Regions from separate parts of the Homo sapiens genome. Here all the other regions are linked to region 1. The links are contacts of gene promoters, found by promoter capture Hi-C in human tissues and cell types (Jung and others, 2019). All regions are on one chromosome and are shown on one strand. Each heading gives the region's core, a stretch centred on a gene start or on the middle of the fragment in contact. The rest is flanking DNA. Distances are from core to core; before and after follow the strand shown.

Region 1 (4,725 bases), core at 559-3,058:
GAGGACTTCAGGGAGGTGGAGGAGAGTCAAGTCAGAGAAGAAACCACTGGGCTGGTCATGCTCAGCTCAGGGATTCCCTTCAACAGGATGAGGTGGATGGCAGCCAGATTGCCAAGGGTGAAAAAGTGGGTGAATGGGGGGAGGCAGAAACAAGTGTGAGAACAAGACCAGTTGCTGCTGATGTTATATGAAGCACGAACATGGTGGGCACCTACTATGTGCCAGGCATGCATTCCAGTTTTTTAAATTAATCTTCAAATAAGCCTTGCTGGGTAGGCATCAACATGCCCATTTTACAGAGGAGGAAACTGAGGAAGTGGAGGCAGCCTGTATGGTCTTCCTAAGGAAGGAAATGGATGGCATTGCCAGGAGTAACCAGAGGTAAAGGAACATTCAGTTCCAAATAGGCTTCCTCTCTTCTCTGCCCTTCCCCACAGTTCCAGAGCTCTCGCAGTGTCAGGCTGCCAGAAGGAAGACAGGATGCAGACGGGGCTGGGCTGTCAGGATTCAGGACCCAGAGACAGACCTAGGCGTGATTTTCGGGTTGACCCTGGGCAAGTACATTTCCCTGTGTGAGTCTCAGTTTCTCTGTCTATAAAATGGCATGGGGGTATTTCGAGGCCCCTCGCTGCACCCCTCTATGTACCATGTGTTTTGCTTTCTGTATTCTGATGCTCTGGCATCTGAGGCCTTGTTGACCTTGGAGAAACTCCCTCCCAGGGTCCAGCCACCCCAGAGCCCACACCCCAACTGCCTCTTTGATCGGGTTGCCATGCCCTGGCCACTACCCACCTGCCCTAATCATGCCAGGGCTAGGTACAAAACAATTAGGAACAGCCCCTGTGCCCCAGAGCCCCTGAAGTATCCCAACTTGCCAGTCCTCAGCCTGCCTGCCCTGCCTTTCCTCTTCTATCCTTGGAAGCCACAGTAAAAGCCCCTTGGCCTCAGATCCGCCCTGTCCCCTCCCCAGGCTCTGCTGCTTCCCCTTGTGCCCCGCGCACTGGTGTCCCCCTCCTGTTGAGAACATGAGTAAGAAACTGTCTTTTTAATGGCAAGAGGTCCTGATATAGTGGCCTGACCACAGCTCAAATTTTCTATTCATACACTACGTTTTTAAACAGCGCCTTTATTTATCCATCCCTTTTTCGTGCTTTCTACATACCAGGCGCTGCCAAGAGTGCTTTAGAAACAGCCACCCATTTCCTCCTCACCAAAGCCCAGTGAGGTAGGCAGCACTGCCACCTCTGTTTCAGAGAGGGGGTAACCCAAGCACGGAATAGCGCAGTCCCTTGCCTAAGGACACACAGCGAGGAAGCGCCCAGCGGGGACTCGAACCCACGCACTCTGGCTCCAGAGTCGATGCTCTTAATATTATGTTGAGCCGCTCTCCGTGATCCAGCCGTAAGGGGACTAATTAAGGGACAGCAAACTGAGCTGCCTAAATTTCTCGTGTGTGCGGCCTGAGGTGGGCCGGCTGTCGGCCTGCATTTGGGCGAGCAGTACAGGGCGATCTCAGGATGTTCACCCTCCCTGCGTCTCCGCGCGGGCCAGGCTGGCCGGGCTCAGCTGCTCCAAGTCCAAGTCCTAATATGGAAGTCGTGCCCCGCCGCAGAGCCGGACCTGTTGTGTCTTTGCCTTTCTACGCATCTGCGCCCACCTCGGCCCAGAACAAGGATTTCAAAAAGTGCCCCGCATTTTGATTTCAGAAGGACTCACCCCAAGCCGCGGAAGCAGAGAGAGTGGCCAGGATAAAGGCACGGAGCCACATCGTGGAAGGGCGACAGTTCTCGGGGCCTGCGAGGTCTCTGTGCAGTTCAGAGGGACTGTGCTGTCCAGCCCTGGAGCCCAGCCCCGCCCAGAGTTACCGCCCTGCGCTGCCAATTGCCTAATCCTCTAATTGGGAGAGATCAGAAAAGCCCTCCCTTTCCTCAGATCTCCCTGGGCTTCTAGTGGGGCCTCAGGCCACGCCCACCCACAGTTTACCCTCTTTCATCAAACCAGTCTGGACTCTACTGTCAGATTACAGAGAGCTGTAAACTTGCCCAACTACTTGTTACATAAGGGTTCACCCTTGCAGGACTCTAACCTCAGTGCACTGTGACGGCCCCCAAGGGCCCACACCAGCAGGCAGATGCTTTTAGGCAAAGGGAAGCTTTGATCTGAGGTCCTCAGAAACAACTGGAAAATGTTAGAGCCACTCACACCTCACAGCTCAGCTGGGTAAGTTAGGACATATCTCAGCTCCCAGGGCTTGTGTTTTCATAGCTTTCCAGGCTCTCAAGCTTGGAAGCGATCTTAAATTTCATCGAGTCCCCTTTCTGAGGCCTGAATTAGCTTCACAATATCCTGCCAACTGGTCCAGCCTCCTGTCACACACCATCGGTGTCAGAGAACTCACTACTTTCCAAAGCAGGGATTTTTGGACAGAATGTAAAAATGAACTCCGTCCCCCCATAGTCCCTGGCTGTTATCATCCATCCATCCAAGTACCCATCCATTTTGTGAACATTTACCAAAATGCTTGGCACCTGGCCATGTATAATGGATACAAAGACCAATTCAAGACATGGTTCAGCTTCTCAAGGGGCTCACCATTGTAGACAAGACAGATGGGGTGGAGGAGCAGTAGGGGTGATGTCAAGGCAATGTGAAATCACCAAATTAAGGGGATACAGAGTGCTCTGGGCACACCTGGAAAACTGTCATTTACAAGCTGCTGGGGACACAAGGAAGTCACTCAAAGCCTCTTTCATGGGATTATTAAATGTCCAACAATAGGGAATTCACTAAACACACTGTGGTACCGCTGGCTAAGGAAATACGATGTATTCACTCAAAATAGTGATGTGCACAGCTATTTATTAACAATGAAGACAGGATGCGTTGTGAAAGGAGAAAATAATAGGTTATAAACTGTTGTGCGGTGTAGGCAGTTCCTCAAAAAGTTCAACACAGAGTTTCCATATGACCCAGCAATTCCCCTCCTAGGTGTCTACCGAAGAGAACTGAAAGCATGTCCACACAAAAGCTTGTACACAAAGAGCAGTGTCATTCATCCTAGTCAAAAAGTGGGCACAACCCGCATGTCCATGACCTGATGAATGTGTAAATGAAGTGTGGTGTATGCGTGCAGAGGCATATCATCCAGCCATAAGAAGAACATGCTACAACGTGGATGAAGCTGGAAAACATCATGGTAAAGGAAAGAAGCCAGCCACAAAAGGCCACATGTCGTATGATGCTTTTTATATGTAATTTCCAAAATAGTCAAATCCATGGAGACAGAAAGTGTTTGACAGGGTCTGGGGAAGGGGAAAGAGACGGGGATGAGGAGTGACTGCTAATGGGCATGAGTTTTATCTTGGGGGTGGTAAAAATGTCCTGGGATTAAATAGTGATGATGTTAGTGCAACTTTGGGAATATACTAAACACCACTAGATTGTACACTTTAAAAAGGTAAACTTTATGACATGTGACTTATATTTCAATAAAATAATGAAATATTTTTGAAAATCTAGATAGGTATAATATGGTCCCGTTTTGGTAGTAACATATGTCTTTATTTGCATAGGAAAATACTGGAAGTCTATATATCTAATTAGAATTACAACAGCCATTTCCTGGCTGTAATCTTGTCAGTGTTTCACTTATTTGCATTTTCCACTTTTATTCCTTCATACATTCATTGACAAATATTTACTGAGAGCTTACTGTGTGGCAAACACTATGCCGAGAGTTTTGTATGCAGGATCTCAGTTCTCAAAATAACCCCGTGAGATTAATGCTGTCTCACGATCTTAAATTGATTTCTGTTGTTTAAGCCACCCAGTCTGTGATATTTTCTTCTGGCAGCCTAAGTAGACTAATACATAGGCTCAACTCAATTCCGTTATTTATTCCCAAAAGAAACTAAGGCCCAGAGATGAGGAGGGATTGCCTAAGGTCACACAGCAACTCAATGGCAAAGTCAGAACCAGAACTTGAGGCTTCTGCCTTCCAGCACAGGGTGGCTGGCAGCCATTTCTCTTGCTTTTATACATCAGGAAGATATTCTAATCAGTAGCCTTATCTAAGGCAAATTGCCTTGTCAGCTCATTGACCCAGGCTTAGCATGGTAGGGCTGAAGGGATAGAAATAGCCAGGGGAGGCTGGGCACTGTGGCAACCCTTCCCGCTCGGTAATCCTAGCACTTTGGCAAGCCAAGGTGGGAAGATTGCTTGAGAGAGGAGTTCAAGACCAACCTGGGAAACATAGTAAGACCCTATCTCTACAAGAATAAGGAGAAAGGAAGAAGAAGAAAAAGAGGAAGGAGAAGAAGGAGAAGGAGGGAAGAAAGAAGAAGAGGAAGAAGAAGAAGAAAGACAGAGAGAGACAAAGAAAGAAAGAGAGAGGAAGGAAGGAAGGAAGGAAGGAAGGAAGGAAGGAAGGAAGGGACAAAGATGGGAGCCATGTACCAGGTACCTGGGGAGCTATGTTCTATTTTCCCAATGTCACTTGGCAAGCCTGCCCTTGTCCAGGCCACACCACTATTGACATCAGGAAAGATTGGGCAACCAGCAGCCATAAATCACATGACAGTCCCAGAGCTGCTGATGGATTCTTGCCCAAGGCCATGAGTTGTAGCTGAAATGAAACTTCTGGAGACCCAAATTCAAAAAGGCATGCTCATTAGCACTCATTCTAGCCACGTGCAGGCTGGTGAGGGGCATTCTGTGATGGGAATG
Region 2 (4,725 bases), core at 873-3,372, 240 kb before region 1:
TTTACACACATTCTCAATCCCACTACCTGTTTGTTATTGCACTTGAACTTACATGAAACTATTTACTTGTTTATACATTTATTGTCTGTTATTCCTAGCACATAGAAGGTATGTCTGGCACATAGCAAACACTCGATCTTTGATGAATGAATGAATAATGATAACATTAACTTTTTTGCTTATTCTGCCTTGTATTGTGTAAGATTAGAGACAATCCTTACAACAAACTTGAAAACCCAGACTTAACGATCTCTAAAACTCACATGTAAGTTAAGGCTCAGAGAAGTTTCATCACTTGCTCAGAGTTACGTAACTGGTGAATACCGAGGCTAGATTTCAAACCCAAGGCTGCCCGGCTCTAAATGAGGGGATATTTGATTAGGCCAAAGTAACCTGAACCCTTAAAATAACCAGGCTTTAACTTCCAGAAACATGGGAACTAGATAACCTGAGAACCTGCTGGCCACGAAACCCCTAGAATACTGAACACAATATCACAAACATATTTTGAAATGCATAGATGAGCATGTAAAATACTGAGGGAACTCCTCAATGGCCAAAAGTGGAAAGCAGATGAAAACCAGAACTGTGTAAAAGCCTGAAAGTTACAGTCGTCCTGCAGACATTTGTCAATCTCAGTAACAAAGGGACTTAGTATTTTTTGGCTATGGAAGACAAAAACAAGCTTTTTGTATAAGGTGGGAATGTTGAACTGAGACCTCATGGGAGAAAAAGCAGATGAAGGGTTAGAGGCTCAGTAAAAGAATGAACTGGAAAAATCCATCTTCTGACAAAGAAAGACAATGAGGAAACTTTTCTGTCTTGGGCTGGGTGCTTGGTTGGAGCAGGGGGAAAGAATCTCTGATTTTTCAAAAACTTTCAATTAAAAAAATGTTTCAAAACTCATTTTATGGCCCAGTCTATGTATGTCTTGTTGAATGTCCCATGTGCATTTGAAAGGAATATGTGTTCTGCATTTGTTGAATGTAATGTTCAGTAAAGGTAAATTAGGTTCAGTTAGTTAGTAATGCTATATAAGCCCTCTATAGCCTCACTGATTTTTTTGTCTGCTTATTCTATAATTATTGAAAAGGGGATATTGAAATTGTCAGCTGCAACCATGGTTTTATTGGCAGTCAGTTTGTTTGACGTCCTGCCCTTAGATTCATAATCACTTATGATTTTCATATAGTCTTGATGAATTGACCCTTTTATCATTATGAAATATGCCTCTTTAATTCTAGTAATACTCCTAATGTTACCATAGCTACTCCAACCATGCCAACTCTCTTATCATTAGTGTTTGCATGGTTTATAGTTTTTCATCATTTTACTATTAACTTGTGTCCTTATTTTTTAAATGCATCTCTTAAATGAATGTTTTATGACCCATTCAGGCCTTGATTTTTTTATTCTATATGACAATTTCTGTCTTTTAATTGGAGCAGTTACTCCACCTACATTTAATGTAATTATTGATACAATTAGGTTTACTACCATACAGAGTCTACTATCTTGCTTTTTGTTTTCTGTTTGTTCCATCTGTTCTAGGATACTCTCTCTTCCTTTTCTGACTTCTTTTGAATTAATCATTTTTTTTGACATTTTATCATTTTATATTTTCTTTTGGCTTATTAGATATAATTACCTATTTTTAATGGTCGCTCCAAGGCTTATAATATCTTTCACATCTAAACTGTATCTTTAATGTAATATAGTTTACTTTCAAATAACAGTATACTTTTTCACCTATAGCATGTGAACCTTACAACAATATACTTTCATTTTACTCTACCTTATTATTTCTGCTATTGTCATATGTTATTTATGTGTTTTAAACCCCACAAGACACTTTAATTATTTTTGTTATAAACAATTACCATTGAGAGAAAGTAAGACTTTGATAAAGAAAGGTATTTTATATTTATCTACATATTTACTGTTTCTAGCACTCTTCTTTATATAGTTCCACTTTTCATCATTTTCCTTAAGCATGAGGACCTTCCTTGAACAATTCTTGTAGCACAAGTCTTCTGTCGATAAGTTCTCTCAACTTTATTTTGTCTAAATGTGTCTTTATTTTGGCTTCATTTTTGTAGAATATTTTTGATGGATATAGAATTCTAGGTTGATTTTCTTTTCCTTCTAGTACATTACAGATTTCATTGTCTTTTTCTTTTTATTGTCTCTGATGAGAAATTAACAATAATTATCTTCCTAGTTCTGTTGTATGTAATTTATCATCAGGCTACTTTTAACATTTTTTTTTCTTTATTACTAGTTTTGAAAAATTGTATTATGATTTGCCTTGGTGCAATATTCTTTATGCTTCTGGGGTTTATTGAACTGCTTGGATCTGTAAGTTTAGAGTTTTCATGAAATTTGGAAAATTTTCAGCTATTATTTTTTTCAAATAATTTTTCTGCCCCTAATCTTTCTCATTTCTCTCCTCTAATTACATATATGTTAGCCCATTTGGACTATTCCATAGGTCACTGAGTCTGTTAATTTTTTTCATCTTCCTTTTTCTGTATGCTTTGGTTTTCATATTTTTTGTTGCTCTTCAAGTTCACCAGTTGTGTCTCCTGCAGTATAAATGTTTCATTTCAGATACCACATTTTATGCTTCTTGAACTTTTATTTAGTTTTTTTCTTAGTTTCTATTTGGCTAATGAGAATTCCTATTCTCTCATTATGTTCACAGATTTCCTAAATTTCTAGAATATATTTATATGTAGTTTTAAAGTTCTTATTTCCTATTCTGTGTTTGTTATTCCTGATTTTATTTCTATCGCTGATTTACCTCCTAGTAATAGGTCATATTTCCTTTTTCTTCACATGTCTGATAATTTTGTGTTATATCCTGGACATTATGGATGCCACTTTATTAAGTGTCTAGATTTGGCTGTCATCCTTAAATCGGGTGTCTAGTTTTGTTCTGCCAGGTAGTTAATTTACTTGCAGATCAGCCTGGTTCTTTCTAAGCTTATTTTAAGGTTTTACAAGAAAGAGTCCATAGTATTCTTTACTCTAGGATTACATTAGCCTTATGCCTAAAGTGTAGCCTTTCTGAGGGTCTCTTTTGAATCTCCTGTATATTCAACAAGGTCTCTACGCTCTGGCTGTTCAAAAATCAAATGTGTTTTAACCTTGTGTGAGCTTCAGTAGTTATTCAATATACAGCTTCCTCTGTAGATATTCTTTCCTCAGTACTTTTTGTTTCTCCAATAGATGTTCTTTATCTGTCCTCATGGAGTCTTTCGCTGAGCATGTGCAGCTTAGTAGCTATATTAGTCTACTTAGGCTGCCATAACAAAATAACACAGACTGGGAGGCTTAAAAAAACCAGAAATTTATTTTCTTACACTTCTAGAGGCTAGAAGTCCAAGATCAAGATGCTATTAAGGATGGTTTCTGATAAGATTTCTGGTTTATAGACAGCTGCCTACTCATGTGTCCTCACATGGTCTCTTCTCTCTATACATGTCTGGAGAGAGAGAGAGAGAGAGAGAGAGAGCGCTCTGGTATCCCTTTCTCTTATAAAGACACCATTCCTATTGCATTAGACCACCACTCTTATGATCTCATTTAACCTTAACTTACCTTTCTAAAGGCCCTGTCTTCACAGACAAGCACATTGAGGGCTAGGGTTTCAACCTATGAATTTAGGTGAGGGAGATGAAGACACAATTCAGTTCATAACAATAATTAACCAAAGACTTAAGGGGTTTCCTGTAGAGATGTCTGTAGCTCTGTCTATAACCAACTTCCTTTTTCTCAGTACTATACTCCACACTTTCCAACCAACTCAGCCTCCTCAGGCTCTAATCTCTGTCTCCTTAGCTAAGTGACACTTCTGTATTCTGTTTGGGCTCTTGCACTCTACAAAACAGTCCAGAAAATTTTCTAGACAGAATAAAACAGAGTGGTCATTATATCACCTCATTTGTTTTCCTTCTCTTGGGAATCATAGTCCTGCATTGCCTCTTGTCCAAAGTCTGAAAATAGTTTTCATATATTTTGTTCATTTTAATAATACTTTATAGCAAGAGGGCTAACCAAGTACTAGCTATTCCATCATAGGTGGAAGCAGAATGTCCTCACTGCCTCCATCCCAAGCATTTTAAAATGTAGAGCTGACCTCACATGTGTTCGAAGTTTGAAAATTACTGACATGGTCTATGAACCCCCAATGCTGAGAATTAAGAATTCCCTGGGATACCAACTAGACAGAAATGTAAATCTTTGGAAGGATACATTTTCAACCTAACATGTGATAGAATGCCAAGTAAAGCCCAGCCAAACCAAAGTTCTGAAATTATGAAATATGCAAGGATATAAGGCAAGAGTCAGCACAAACAAACATCAGGAAAAATCTCAGAATCTTTGGATTATAGAATTGTTGAATATAAAAATTAAAGCAAGATTTTAAAGGCTGTTTGAGAAAATTATGAAACTATGAGAAATGAACATGGTACCATAAAAAAGACCAGATCTATTTGAAAAAGTCTTCTAGAAATAGAACATCTAGAAAATAAAACTATATATTACACTAAATAGATGAGTTAAACTGTAAATATTGACACAGCTTTACAAAAGAATTAGGAAACTGATAATAGATTTGAAGAAACTATCCAGAATGCAGCATACAGAGGCAAAGAGAGAAAAATGAGGAAAAGAAGGTAAAAAAATACAATAGAATGAGAACAATTGGCACACATTTCA
Region 3 (4,725 bases), core at 697-3,196, 180 kb before region 1:
GGCCAGGAGACTTGGGTTCTCATTTCCACTCTGTGACTTCCAATCTGTGGGACCTTGGACAAGTCCCTTTAGTCCACAGAGCCACAGTTTCCTGACCTGATACGTGGAAAGATGATTCTCTTCCTGCTTTCCTTACAGGATTGTCATGATCGTCCAATAGATCAAAGGAGATAAACACCTTTCATGTGTGGAAACCTACAGTTCTGAGCTCTTGTCCTCAAACCTCTGCTCAATCTTTTCCCTCACCTGCCTTCTGTCATCTTCCCCAGAAGCCAGGGGAACCCATACCCCTCTAGGTTTCCCTTCCTCTCCCCTCTGCATCCTGCCCAGAGGACATTTGTCACGATTGTCCCTCTGGTACAGATGCTCTAAACACCGCCACACACCACCATTCTTTCATTCATTAACTCATTCACTTCATAGGCTGGTTGATGCTCTAGTACGTTCCAGGTGCCAGAACACGTGCTGTAAAAGACAGACAAGGTCCCTGTGCTCATGGAGCTCACATACCACCCAAGGGGGGACATAAAGTTAAACAACTAGGACAAATTCGGATAGCGATGTAACAAATGAATAAATAGGGTGATAGGATAGAGTGAGCGTGTATTTTCGATTTGAGTCGTCGGGAAGGGACCTCTGGACTGAGACCTGAACAACTCAGGCAGAGAAAACAGCAAGTGTAAAGGTCTTGGGGTGGGTTTGAGCTTAGGATGTTTACAGAATGGAAAGGTCAGTGTGGCTGGGCTGATCCAAGCCCCACCCAACCCACTTAGCACGGCCACCTCTCTGAAGCCTCCTTGGATCAACAGGATGCTTCCCTTGCTGATTCAGCTCCACCCTACTTCCACACATCTGTGGTCACAACACATCCTGACCACACTGGGTTGTGATAGACTCTATACACTGGTCTGGGAGCTCCTTGAAGGCAGGGGCTATCTCCTCTCTAGCCAGCACTGTTCACGCACACAGCAGATGATCAGCATCTGCTAAAGGGATTAATACATTAATCAATAGATGAGTGAATGAATGAGAAAACGACTCTCAGGTCCAAATGGCTCACTCCTTTACTTGTCTAATTGTTACCTTCTCAAATTCCCTGACCCCGTATGCAAACTGCAGCCCCACTGTCCCCCCATTCCCTCACCCATCATATAACGTGTGTATTTATTATGTTTCCCGTTTCCTCTGTCTCCGCCAGCAGAATGTAAACTCCATGAGGTCAGGAATCTCCGAGTTATGTTGCGCCAGTGTAATCCAAGAGCCCGGAACAGTGCCTGGCACACAGCGGGCATATGGAAGAACAAATGTGTGAAGGTGTGAATGAATGAATAATTGAAAGAATAAATAGTAGTTCTCAGCCTCACAGAACACGGGTCACAACCTCAAATGACCTGCTACCCTGCCCATAAATAACAGAGATGCAGGAGTAAGTGCTGGGCTGTGACCTGTCAACATGCTAAGCCGCTCAAACAAAACTGCCCAACAGCCCGCTGGCCGCCTATTTGCAGCACTGGGCCCTGAGCCGCACATTCCCATTTCGTTGATAAAGAAACTGACCAGATAGTTTAAGTGGCCTGCTGCGGAAGACAGAGCTGGTGCTGCACCGGTCGCTGCTTCCCCAGTCCTTTTTTGGCCTCCTTTCTGACGCGACGCAGACCCCAGTTCTGGAGAGTCTGTCACTCGCTCCCCGTGGTGGGAGATCAGAGGCCTGGTGTCCTTGGGAGCGGCGAGCGGTGCTCGGCGCAGGATAGAAAGGGAGTGCGCGCCCGAGTCCCCCAGATCCCTGGGAACCCGCGCCACCCTCCCGCCCCTGCCCATCCCCGGCCGCGCTGTCAGTCTCCATTAGCGCTAACAGGCTCCAGACGGAGCGGGCCGGGCGCTGGGTTAATGCAATCGGCGCGTTACCTGGGGCGCAGGCTACATTACCAGCCCGGCCCCCGCCAGGCACGGCCAGAACCAGTCAGCCCGCGCCCTGCCGGCCGCCCCGCGCCTCCAGCTCTTCCCCGGCCCCGCCCGAACGCCACACGGCGGAGCCCAGCCCCAGCCCGCGCCCTAGAGCCTGCCAAGGCGCCGCCGGTCGGGGGCCGGCAGGGCGCAAGGCACCAGGGATCCCCTCGCCGCCGGACACGTGAGTGCGCCCTGAGCGCGGGACAGGGCTAGGTCTGCCTGGGAGGCCCGGGCCGAGACGCGCCAGCAGAGGGCTAGCGAGTTTGTAGTGCAGTGACGTTAAGTGTCCGAGAAGGCTCCTGTGGCTGTTGAAGTGTCGCGGACCTGAGCTGGGGAGGGGGTCGGCACGCTGCCCTCAGCCTCGGTGAGTTCAATCCCAGCCATTTGGGGCAGGCGAGAGTGGGTGAACGAGGAAAAGTGCTGCAGGGTCTTCAGCCGCCCCCAGAGGGCTGTCAGAAGTCTCCAACTCTTGAGTTCCGGCGTGCCCCAACCTCTGTTTCCAAATTTTTCCAGCGGACGCGCGCCCTTTTCTGGGAACCCTGCGTCCGCTCAGCGCGCGCTCATCCCAGTGTCTAAGGCGCTCCCGGGTGGTCTTGGGAGTTGCAAGTAGGGAGGAACGGCCGGGTAACCACCTCTTTTCCCTTTATCCAAGCAGAGCCTCGGCGTGCCCCCAGGACCGGTAAAGTTCCTCTCGCCAGCCGCATCCATGCTTCTGGCGCGGATGAACCCGCAGGTGCAGCCCGAGAACAACGGGGCGGACACGGGTCCAGAGCAGCCCCTTCGGGCGCGCAAAACTGCGGAGCTGCTGGTGGTGAAGGAGCGCAACGGCGTCCAGTGCCTGCTGGCGCCCCGCGACGGCGACGCGCAGCCCCGGGAGACCTGGGGCAAGAAGATCGACTTCCTGCTGTCCGTAGTCGGCTTCGCAGTGGACCTGGCCAACGTGTGGCGCTTCCCCTACCTCTGCTACAAGAACGGCGGCGGTGAGCGTGGGGTCGGGCTGGGAATTTGAATCTGGGAGGTCCACTGTCTGCAGCGGTGGCTGGGACAGGAGCTGGAATACACACGGAAGGGAGGCGAGGAGACAGGGGCAAATCTGGGGCGCAGAAAGAACTGGACAGGGCTAACGGGAAAAAAAAAGATTGGAGTCCTCTGGAAGGTCATTTTCCCAGGCTCTTTGCAGAGTACCTCGAGCTCATTCCAGCGGAAGTGTCAGGATTGGGCACCCTGGAAGCAAAACAGCAGAAGAGTGAAATCGAGTCATGACCCTAAAGTCATGGTAGGGGTATGGATGGAAAGGACAGAATCTGGGGTGCCAGGTTGGGTGGGGGAGCCTGACCTTTTGATGGTCTGCTGGAAGGGAGGTGGAGATTCCAAGAGCTCTTGAAGGGGCACCAGAAGTGGGTGGGATTTGACAACCAGGCCCACAGTGACCCTAAATCTAGCACTCTGAGCCTGGGGGCAGGAACCTTTGGGCCAGAAGCAGTGGGAATACTTCGGTTTTCTGAAGGCACCTGGGGAGGCCCTGTGGTCTTGGGGATAGAAACACACAAGAAGAAGCCAGTATCAGAAATAATGCCATTCTCAGGGAGCACAGCCCAGGTGGAATCAGGCCAGTAGGTGCCAAGAACTGGCCTGGTCCTCAAGGCAGGAGGCCCAGATGATTGGGGTGAAACCTCTACCTCCTCAAGTTCTAGCCGCATTGCAGGGAGGAGTGGGAGAGGGGCCTGAAGAAGACTCCAGTGGAACAGCCACACTCTCTCCCCCTTCTGCTGGATGGTCCAACTGGCCACCTGCCTGAAAATGAGAGCCTAGAGATCACCTACAGCCAATCCAGGAAGAATAACATAGAACCCCGGGCCAGGGAAGCGGTCTGGAAGTCAGGGTGCTGGCCCCCACCCCCTAGCTCCTTCCTGAGGGGCTTTGCTCCTGCCACTTTTGCTGGGATGAGCTCAGAGGTACCCTGCAAAGAGTGTGGGAAAATAGACCTTTTGAGGAAGAAATTGGAGAAGGGGGACCCAGCTCTGAAAGCCTCTCTCTCTCCACTGGGCTGCATTGCTTGGCGGTAGCTGTGACTCTGGACTTAAGGGAGGTCAGAGGGAGGAAGGGCAAGAATTTGGAGCTGGGTAGAGGGAAAGCTCATGACCTGTTCACAGGCTCTAGGACTTACAACTCTGCTTCTATGTGTACTCTGGACACTTGCTTTGGGACGGGCAATACTTGGTGTTTGCAAAAAAGGAGTGGGGCCGGGCATGGTGGCTCATGCCTATAATCCTAGCACTTTGGAAGGACAAAGTGGGCAGATTGCCTGAGCTCAGGAGTTCGAGACCAGCCTGGGCAACATGGTGAGACCTCGTCTCTACTAAAAATACAAAAACTTAGCTGGGCGTAGTGGTGCACGCCTGTAATCCCAGCTACGCAGGAGGCTGAGGCAGGAGAATCACTTGAACCCGGGATGTGGAGGTTGCAGTGAGCCAAGATCACGCCACTGCACTCCAGCCTGGACCATGGGTGACAGAGCAAGACTCTGTCTCAAAAAAAAAAGGAGTGGGATCACCATAGAGCACAGGTGGCTCTGAGCAGAGGATCTTGAGTAAGAAAGCAGTTAGCTCTTCCAACGAGAAAGTTAACCCAAGGTTGGAGCTGACAGATGGAGGTTTGCGTCCATGGTCTCCCTGACACCTCCTGAGATGGGTCTGTCATTGTCAGATACTCTGAGACCAGATAGCTGGAACAGCAGTCCTGAGCTTCAGGGGCATCTGAGGTCTGGGGCCTGATCCG

What was found. Contacts are between HindIII fragments. The study calls those that stand out against the background at their distance.
Region 2: a fragment that was not itself captured here is called in contact with the fragment with the promoter of CES1 in region 1 in 2 of the 25 tissues and cell types used here (H1 embryonic stem cells and spleen).
Region 3: the fragment with the promoter of SLC6A2 here is called in contact with the fragment with the promoter of CES1 in region 1 in 1 of the 25 tissues and cell types used here (mesendoderm cells).

What each region holds. Positions count from the first base shown.
Region 1 is chr16:55,831,288-55,836,012 of GRCh38, forward strand. It overlaps CES1 (carboxylesterase 1), which reads right to left and starts at 1,809. Exons shown (of 14, transcript NM_001025195.2): 1 at 1,717-1,809. The coding sequence starts at 1,768. The HindIII fragment of the contact is 6,998 bases long and covers 1-2,655 here.
Region 2 is chr16:55,588,718-55,593,442 of GRCh38, forward strand. No RefSeq gene overlaps it. Among named protein-coding and RNA genes, the nearest start is that of CAPNS2, 24 kb to the left of the region's middle. The HindIII fragment of the contact is 4,617 bases long and covers 1-4,431 here.
Region 3 is chr16:55,654,042-55,658,766 of GRCh38, forward strand. It overlaps SLC6A2 (solute carrier family 6 member 2), which reads left to right and starts at 1,947. Exons shown (of 15, transcript NM_001172501.3): 1 at 1,947-2,128; 2 at 2,603-2,927. The coding sequence starts at 2,654. LOC124903693 (a long non-coding RNA gene) reads right to left here and starts at 2,072. Exons shown (of 2, transcript XR_007065075.1): 1 at 1,558-2,072. RefSeq lists an enhancer at 2,199-2,734. The HindIII fragment of the contact is 17,922 bases long and covers 1-4,725 here.